Regions from separate parts of the Homo sapiens genome. Here regions 2 and 3 are each linked to region 1. Evidence: promoter capture Hi-C in 16 types of primary human blood cells and fetal thymus (Javierre and others, 2016). All regions are on one chromosome and are shown on one strand. The core of a region is centred on a gene start or on the middle of the fragment in contact, and the rest is flanking DNA. Distances in the headings are between cores, read along the strand shown.

The links. The method cuts DNA at HindIII sites, captures the fragments that hold promoters and counts their contacts. A CHiCAGO score of 5 or more calls a contact.
Region 2: a contact is called between the fragment with the promoter of NAPSA here and a fragment that was not itself captured in region 1, in 2 of 17 cell types (total CD8 T cells and total CD4 T cells). The highest score is 7.6, in total CD8 T cells.
Region 3: a contact is called between the fragment with the promoter of ASPDH here and a fragment that was not itself captured in region 1, in 7 of 17 cell types (total CD4 T cells, naive CD8 T cells, total CD8 T cells and 4 more). The highest score is 9.6, in total CD4 T cells.

The regions. Positions count from the first base shown.
Region 1 is chr19:51,112,329-51,115,157 of GRCh38, forward strand. No RefSeq gene overlaps it. Among named protein-coding and RNA genes, the nearest start is that of CTU1, 5.3 kb to the left of the region's middle. The HindIII fragment of the contact is 1,951 bases long and covers 369-2,319 here.
Region 2 is chr19:50,364,160-50,366,988 of GRCh38, forward strand. NAPSA (napsin A aspartic peptidase) reads right to left here and starts at 1,480. Exons shown (of 9, transcript NM_004851.3): 1 at 1,380-1,480. The coding sequence starts at 1,462. All of the region lies in intron 3 of LOC105372437 (a long non-coding RNA gene), which reads left to right. RefSeq lists an enhancer at 1,681-1,830. The HindIII fragment of the contact is 17,836 bases long and covers 1-2,829 here.
Region 3 is chr19:50,512,526-50,515,354 of GRCh38, forward strand. ASPDH (aspartate dehydrogenase domain containing) reads right to left here and starts at 1,388. Exons shown (of 7, transcript NM_001114598.2): 1 at 1,247-1,388; 2 at 747-891; 3 at 402-486; 4 at 136-285; 5 at 1-55. The coding sequence starts at 1,298. All of the region lies in intron 1 of LOC124904747 (a long non-coding RNA gene), which reads left to right. The HindIII fragment of the contact is 8,504 bases long and covers 1-2,829 here.

The DNA of each region.
Region 1 (2,829 bases), core at 94-2,593:
ATTCCTGAATCCTCCCACACTAGCCCCAGATTTAACCTTGTCTCTCCCCTTCTCGAAACTCTTCCATGGCTCCCCATTGCCATCAGGCTTTCCATTGTCAAACCTCTGCAGACTGCAACGGAGGTGCTGCATGATCTGGTCCCTGCACACCCTTCCAGCCTCAGAATGCCTTGCCATCTCCAGGTCATCTAGCTGCCATCCTAAGCAATCCGCGTCTGGTGGAAGATATGGTGGCTGGGCTCAGCTGTCTCTCTCCAGCTCTGGGAGCTTTGGTTCCTGCAGCATCAATGTGCATCTCTGAGGGCCATTTCCTATATCTGGTGCTTGTTACTGGCAGCACTTGCTTCCCCACCCCTCGAAGGGCTAGAAGCTTCCCTGGGTAGAATTTCTGCATGAAGAGAGTTCGTTCACCCGTGGAGCCTACTGAGGAACGGGATTTTTGTCTGTGGTTGGTTGGTTTGTCTGTTTTCATTGTAGTGTATCAAACAGTCCTTATTTTGCCCTAAGTCCAGCTCTGTCCCACTGCCTTCTTGTTAGTTTTTGCATCTCCTTACTAAATGGTAGGTCTGCCTGGGTTCCCACAGCAGTGCTAATAAACTTTGTTGGCCAGAGGAGGCACCAGGAAAGACTCTCTGTTGGCAACACTCTCTGAAGGGCCCTCTGTTTCTCTTTGGCCTTGTCTCTCGTTCTCCTCATCCCAGGAGCCTTTTATGTGAGTTTCCACAGCTCCTCCTCGCACCCTCTCTTCTCTCTGCACTTCTCGTGGCTCCCCCCGATGTCTTGCACACCATGCTGTTCATCCCAATCTGCTCTGAGCCCCAGACAACCACATTTCCCCCCTTCTCAGTGATGGAACCATCATCATTATCCAAATTAGGATTCTAGGAGTCAGATAGATATTTCTCTATCACCTACCATATCCTGTTTGCAAGATGTCTTGCAAACTTCCCTTCCTGGAATAGGCTCACTTCACTCCCCCTTCAACATCCCCATGGCCTCTGCTCCTAGTCATTTCATCCTCTTCCTCTTCTGCTCAGACCTCCACTCTGTTTTCCTCTCCAACTTCTTGGCCTCCACTCTCCTCCTCTCCCTAAAGTCTCCCTCACATCACCCCAGAGGGATACCTTCTCCCACCAAGAGCTGACTCTGCCCCTCCCCCTTGCTCTTAATCCTTCCATGGCTCCCCAGTGCCCTCAATATAAAGTCAAGACTTTTTTTGATATGTAAGCCTGCAAGATACGGCTTGCAACTATTCTTCCAGAGTCATCATGCCTTGATACCTACCTCTGGGGTCATTTAGCTGACTACCTGCCCCACATTTGGACGTCTCTGAACATTTGTCACCTGGTAGCCCAATCCTTAAGAGGGGAGAAACAGGCCTGCCAGTCTTGCCCTTCCCCTTTATCTGTTTGTGCTCAGCTCTGGGGCCCTGGAAAATGCTCCTCACTCCTCATTCCCAGGGCAAGTCTCCATCTAACATGTAGTAATAGGTGAAGACATTTTTGTCTATTTTGTTCAACAAGAATCATACCTGACATATAATAAACTCTCAATATATGTATTCAAAAATTAAAAAATAAAGCTGTTACTTGTGAAATCTCTGCCTGTAGCCCAGGTCTTTGTTCTGACCCCAGCACCCTCCTAATGGCCCCGTTGTCTGTGAAGGCATTTTCAATGCTCTCCACTGTGCTAGATGGTGAGCCCATAGGGACAGAAATTGGGTTTGTTCTGACTCCTAGAGTGACTTGGTAAATATTGTTGATATAGGATAAGGCTCAGAGAAACCTCTGTCTCAGTTTGATAGGACCCCGAGAAACAAAACTGGCAAGTTGGAGAATCTAGCTCCTTTACAGCCAGCAGCAAGTGAGGCTACTCTTTGTCCTGGAGGGAGACATTACCCCATCCCTCAGGGTGGCTCCCTGCAAACACAACCTGAGAACTAGGCCAGGTAACGAGATCTCAGACCATCATGTTTTGGGCAATACCCAACGAGATGTGTAGGAGGACGGGAGGCTCATGGAGATCTGTCCTTCCCAACAGGCTGCCCTACTCTTCTTAGATGATGTGGGAAACTGCAAAATCCTCTCATCAAATTCTCTTTTACCAGCATACACAAAGATTCCATCACTTGTGATCGACGTCTTAGTCAGTAAGTCTGGACCATTTTGACTGGTTTCCAGTCAGAAAACCAGGAGGATGTGGTGAACAGAGAAACCCCAGTACTCACATTTCACTATTCTTTGCTTTCTCTCTTCATGCTTTGTTTGAAGAAGTTGCAAAATGAGATGACTGGAAGAAAGGGACATGATAGCTAAATAAAGCTTCCTTTTCTTGGTCAGGCACTATAAATCTATTGCACTTTCTCCTGTCTAACAGAAGTCAAACTTTTCTTTTTTTTGAGATGGAGTTTCACTCTTGTTGCCCAGGCTGGAGTGCAATGGTACCATCTCAGCTCACTGCAACCTCTGCCTCCTGGGTTCAAGCGATTCTCCTGCCTCAGCCTCCTGAGTAGCTGGGATTACAGGCGCCCGCCACCACACCCAGCTGATTTTTGTATTTTTAATAGAGACGGGGTTTTACCATGTTGGCCAGGCTAGTCTCGAACTCCTGACCTCAGGTGATCCGCCTGGCTTGCCCTCTCAAAGTGCTAGGATTACAGGCATGAGCCACAACACCTGACCTTACTATTGTAAGTATTAGTTCTAAAAACTGGCGGCCCCTCCTCTGAGTCCCTGTCACTCCAGTTCTCAATCTCTCTCCATATGGCTCAATGCTCTCCTGGAATCATTGTCCCTTCAGGTCCCCATTAGGATCTTCAGTCTTAGGCCC
Region 2 (2,829 bases), core at 230-2,729, 750 kb before region 1:
ATACAAAAAAAATTAGCCGGGCATGGTGACTCACGCCTGTAATCCCAGCACTTTCAGAGGCAGGAGAATGGTGTCAGCCTGGGAGGTGGAGGTTGCAGTGAGCTGAGATCGCGCCATTGCACTCCAGCCTGGGCGACAGGGCAAGACTCCGTCTCAAAAAAAAAAAAAAAAAAAGGCCAGGCGCGGTGGCTTACGCCTGTAATCCCAGCACTTTGCGAGGCTGAGGTGGGTGGATCACGAGGTCAGGAGATCGAGACCATCCTGGCTAACACTGTGAAACCCCATCTCTACTAAAAATACAAAAAATTAGCCGGGCGTGGTGGCGGGTGCCTGTAGTCCCAGCTGCTTGGGAGGCTGAGGCAGGAGAATGATGTGAACCCGGGGGACAGAGCTTGCAGTGAGCCAAGATTGCGCCACTGCACTCCAGCCTGGGCAACAGAGTGAGACTCAGTCTCAAAAAAAAAAAAAAAAAAAAAGTCCTGAGAGGAGGGGGAGGGGTCCTCAATCTAGAGTCTCAGTGTTGTAAGATCTGGGACTTAAAAGGGCTCTGGGACCGGACGCGGGGGCTCACAGCTGTAACCACAGCACTTTTGGAGGCTGAGGCGGAAAGATCACTTGAGGTCAGGAGTTCAAGACAGCCTGGCAAACATGGCGAAACCCCATCTCTACTAAAAATACAAAAATTAGCCGGGCGTGGTGGCATGTGCCTGTAGTCCCAGCTACTTGGGAGGCTGAGGCAGGAGAATCACTTGAACCCGGGAGGCAGAGGTTGCAGTGAGCTGAGATCGCCCCACTGCACTCCAGCCTGGGTAACAGAGCAAGACTCTGTCTCAAATAATAATAATAATAATAAATAATAATAATAATAATAATAATAATAAAAGGGCTCTGGTCAGCCAGGCGCGGTGGCTCACGCCTGTAATCCCAGCACTTTGGGAGGCCGAGGTGAGCGGATCACGAGGTCAGGGGTTCCAGACCAGCCTGGCCAACATGGTGAAACCCCGTCTCTACTAAAAATACAAAAATTAGCTGAGCATGGTGGCGCGAGCCTGTAATCCCAGCTACTTGGGAAGCTGAGGCAGGAGAATCGCTTGAACCCAGGAGGCAGAGGTTTCAGTGAGCTGAGATCATGCCATTGCACTCCAGCCTGGGCAACAGAGTGAGACTCCATCTCAAAAAAAAGAAATCTGGTCTTAAGAGATGTCAGAGTGGAGCCCTTAGGGGTGACAGCCTGGTTTAGAGATCTGGAAAGCTGAGAAAGAAGCTCTAGGGATCCTGGGTGCCAAGTTTGGGGATCACTGAACTGGGAGTCCTAGACTTAAAGGGCAAGAGGCAGAAAATCCCTCCTAAGGTTGGGGTGGTAGATGGGGTCACCATACCGGATCAGTGTGGCCCCGGAAGGCTCCACATTCAGCAGAGGCAGCAGCAGCAGCAGGGGTTGCAGCAGCGGTGGTGGAGACATCGCTGGGGACCTGGGTGTGAACCCAGGTGTCCTGGGGCCTCATTTTCTTTCCCCTGTGACTCCACCCTGTTCATGCCCCACCTCCAGGTTTAGAAGGAGACCAGGACATGAAATCTGTCCGCAGGTGACGCAGTGGGACAAGGATGTTTTTTGAAGATTTGTGCAGAGTATTTTTGTAGGGTTGGCAGAAGTAGCATCCTGTGCTCCTGGTGCTCCTCACTCCCTACTTGGGTGGCAGTGGTGGTGGGGTCTCCTCCACCGTCACCACCTCCCACCCCCCCATCCTTCAGCTGCTGTCAGTTTTACTTTTAACTTTCACATAACTTTTCTGAGACTTATTAACCACAAGTGTTTCCTTGGCCAAGTGGGAGAGACCAGCAGGTATCTGTGAAGGGCCTGGGGGAAGGGAGAAAGGACATGATTAGACACCTGCCCTCACATATGAAGTGGGCCCGCATTTCAGGACCCAGTCTCTTACTGTTTTATTTGTAGGTGAAGTATGTTTCTTGTTGACAACAGATCATTGGGTATTGTTTTTTGTTTGTTTGTTTTTGTTTTTGTTTTTTGGTTTTTTTTTTTTTGAGACCGAGTTTCACTCTTGTTGCCCAGGCTGGGATTACAGGCATGCGCAACCACGCCCCACTAATTTTGTAGTTTTAGTAGAGACAGGGTTTCTCCATGTTGGTCAGGCTGGTCTAGAACTCCCGACCTCAGGTGATCCGCCCGCCTCAGCCTCCTAAAGTGCTGGGATTACAGGCGTGAGCCACTGCACCCAGCTGATTCTCAATTATTTCAATCTCTTTGTTAAATTTATGTGATGGAATCTGAATTCCTTCTGTGTGTTAGCTTGAATTTCTTTGAGTTTCCTCAAAACAGCTATTTTAAATTCTCTGTCGGAAAGGTCACATATCTCTGTTTCTTCAAGGATTGGTCCTTGGTGGCTTATTTGATTTGTTTGGTAAGGTCATTTATTCTGGATGGCCTTGATGCTTATAGATGTTCATTGGTGGCTGGGCATTGATGAGTTATTTATTTATTTATTTATTTATTTATTTATTTATTTATTTAGATGGAGTTTTGCTCTTGTTGCCCAAGCTGCAGTGCAATGGTGTGATCTCAGCTCACTGCAACCTCTGCCTCCCAGGTGCAAGTAATTCTGCCTCAGCCTCCCGAGTAGCTGGGACTACAGGCACCCGATACCACCCTGGCTAAATTTTTTTTTTTTTTTTGAGATGGAGTTTCACTCTTATTGCCTAGGCTGGAGTGTAATGGCGCCATCTTGGCTCACTGCAACCTCTGCCTCCTGAGTTCAAGCGATTGTCCTGTCTCAGCCTCCCAAGTAGCTGGGATTATAGGCGCATGCCAGC
Region 3 (2,829 bases), core at 138-2,637, 600 kb before region 1:
GGGGTCCCTCAAGCCGGAAGCCATCGGGGTGTGTGGCCATGGTGACACGAAGGCTCTGGAAGCAAGAGCCCGGGTTAGGGGGAGTGGGGTCTTTGCAGGCCTCCCCTGGTTCCTGGGGAGCCCAGCAGGCCTCACCCGGAGGCCCCCAGCTGCATCCAATCTCCTGATGTCCTCAGCGCCCCACAGGGCCCCTCGGGCCACAAACACGGCGTGGTCCCAGTGCTGTGAGGCCTCCAAGAGCTGCCGCTCTGTGGTCTGGTCACTTAGAGCTGAGGGGGACCCCACCTGGGGTGGATGAAGGAGGGGAGGGTTGAGGTCAGGGAAGGATATCCACTTCAGGGTGGGGTGAGACCAAGACAGAAGGGGCAGGGCTCTGCGTAAATGGTTGGGGTGGGGCTTACCAGGAGATTGGCATGGCGCAGGATTTGTGCCCCAGATTCATGGATTATTTTGGGATGGGCCACTTCCACAACCAGATCAGGGCGCCTGGGAGAGGGGAAAGAGGGCGGAGGGTCTTGGAGAGGTATTAGGCCTCTTCTCCCCAAGGTTCCCTCCGAGTCTACTGAGGGCTGCCCTTCTTCTCCCTGACCTGGGAGGCGAAATGAGATGAATGGGTTCGTCCTGTTTCACATTTGCTTGAACCAAGGCCCAGAGAGGGTCAGGGAACCCCTGAGATCACACAGTGGCTAAGAGAGCCAGGACAGGAGCTTCAGGGAGCTCCACTCTCCCATGGCAAGGTCACTGACCTTTCCCCAAGGGCAGCAAGGTTCTGGAGCTGCAGGGAAGGGGGCACGCTCCCTGCCATTCGTCCTGGGTCACGATTCCAGACAAAAACAAGTTCTAGGCCAAGTTCTGGTCCCTGAGCCAAGAGGCGGGAGACGAGGGACTGTCCTGGGGAGAGGGAAAGGAGAGGGCTAGAGATCCAGAGAGAGGGGGACAGAGACCCAGAGAGAGAGGAGGTGGGGACAGAGACCCAGAGAGAGAGGAGGTGGGGACAGACTCAGATTGCGGGGTAGGGAGACAGAGATGGGGGCAGGGCAGAGACACAGTGGGGTGGACAGAGGCCCAGAGAGAAGGGAGACAGAGACGGAGAGGACAGAGACCTGGGGTGGGGGTGCAGTGGGCAGACCCAGAGACACAGCCAGGGGCAGATAGAGAGAGAAAAAAGTGTTTGTGGAGGGCAGAGAGTCTTGGGAGCTTTAGGAAGGGGTTTGGGGAAGGAGGCCAAGGATGGTCAGGGACTCACCGAGGCGGCCATAGCCCACCACGCCCACCCTCCACGGGCCCCTGTCGGCCATGGCCCTGAGTGCGGTGTCTGGGGCCTGGCTCCCTGGGCTGCTCGCTGCCCGCTGCACAAGGCCTGGGCAGCCGCTGCTCTTTGGACATCTGACCCTTGAGCCTCTGGGCTCAGTCTTCCCCCTTCCCCGCAGGCCCAGCGTGGGGGCGTGGGCCTGCGGGAGTGGAGGCGGGAGAACCCTTCCCTGTGCTCTGTCCACTTTCCCGGGTCCAGCACAGTGAGCATGGTGACCGGGGGTTCTGGGAACCCTGCGTGCCCCCCTTTCCCCTGCAGCACACCCTCTTTCTCCCTGCTGATGTGGAAAGTTTCCTCTGCAGTCCCCTGCCCCCTCTCTGGCCGGCCAGGTTGTCATGGAAACTGCATCTTGCTTTGGGTTGGGAGAAGAGATGGTGACAGGGACTCTGGGCTCTGTCTGTCCCCTCGTGCTCACCTCTCCTCCTTGTCCTCAGGCGGCTAAGGTCTGAGGGAGGCTTCAGCCTGGCCGTGGCCCTAGCCCTCCCAGAGGCAGCGGGAGCCCTGGTTGTGGCTTCTCCTCAATGTGCCCTTGCCTCAGCGGGTCCAACCTCCCTAGCCCCGCTGCGCAGCACGGGTCCCCTTCCCACAGCCTCCGCCCCTGTCCACAGCCTCCCTCCGCTCTGATCATCCTTCAGTTCACCTTGACTTGCTACCTTTCACTCTGTCCCCCATCGTGCCACCAGCTGCCTCCAGTGTGACGTTCTCGCTCCCACGTCCGTCCCTCCCGTTCCCCAGCTCGCGTCAGCCCAGGAGAAGCCTTCGAGGCCTGGAGAGGCCAAGTGCCCCCAACATGAGCCCCAGCCTCTGTGCCTTGAGGGTGCCTGGCATCGGAAATGGCGCAGGCTGCGGCAGCGCAGGCTCCCTGCCCCCAGCCACCACCTGGTACCCGCTGCAGTGTTTCCATGGCAACCAGGATTGGCGCTGGAAGGAGGCTGGAGAGAAAGAGAGCGTGAACGGGAGCATGGGGTGGGGGGGGCGGGCACTGGGTGGCGAGAGCCCCAAGTTGACGGGAGGAGAGAGGAGACAGACGCGGGCAGACAGAGAGGGGCCAAGACCCCGACGTGGCACCCAAAGGCTGCCGCTGCTGATAAGGGAGGAATTGGCTTCCAGAGCCAGGAGCCCCCGGTGTGGGAGAGATGAGATGCCTGGGTGTAGACAGAGCCAGGAAGGGGGCAGGGGCCAGGCACCTCACGGAAGTGGGGGGCCTCCCGCCATCTCTACCTTCTGACTCCTGCTGGGGCCTGAGTGTCCCCATAGTGCCCATAGCTGCCGTGTACGGGGTACAGCCTGGGCCACTACGAGGGGAGAAGGGGGCTGGGCGCAGGCCTGTGTGTCCTCAGGGCTGTGTCCCCGAAGCCACCTCAGCGTGGGAAAGCACTGGAAGGCCCTGCATGGCTCCGTCCCTCCCTCTGCCTCCCCCAGCAGCGTGAGATGGCAGCCCTGGCCAGCCCCAGCCCTCCAGGGCCTGCAACTCGGGCACCTTGACCCCCCAAGAGACATCACCACCCCCTCCCCCA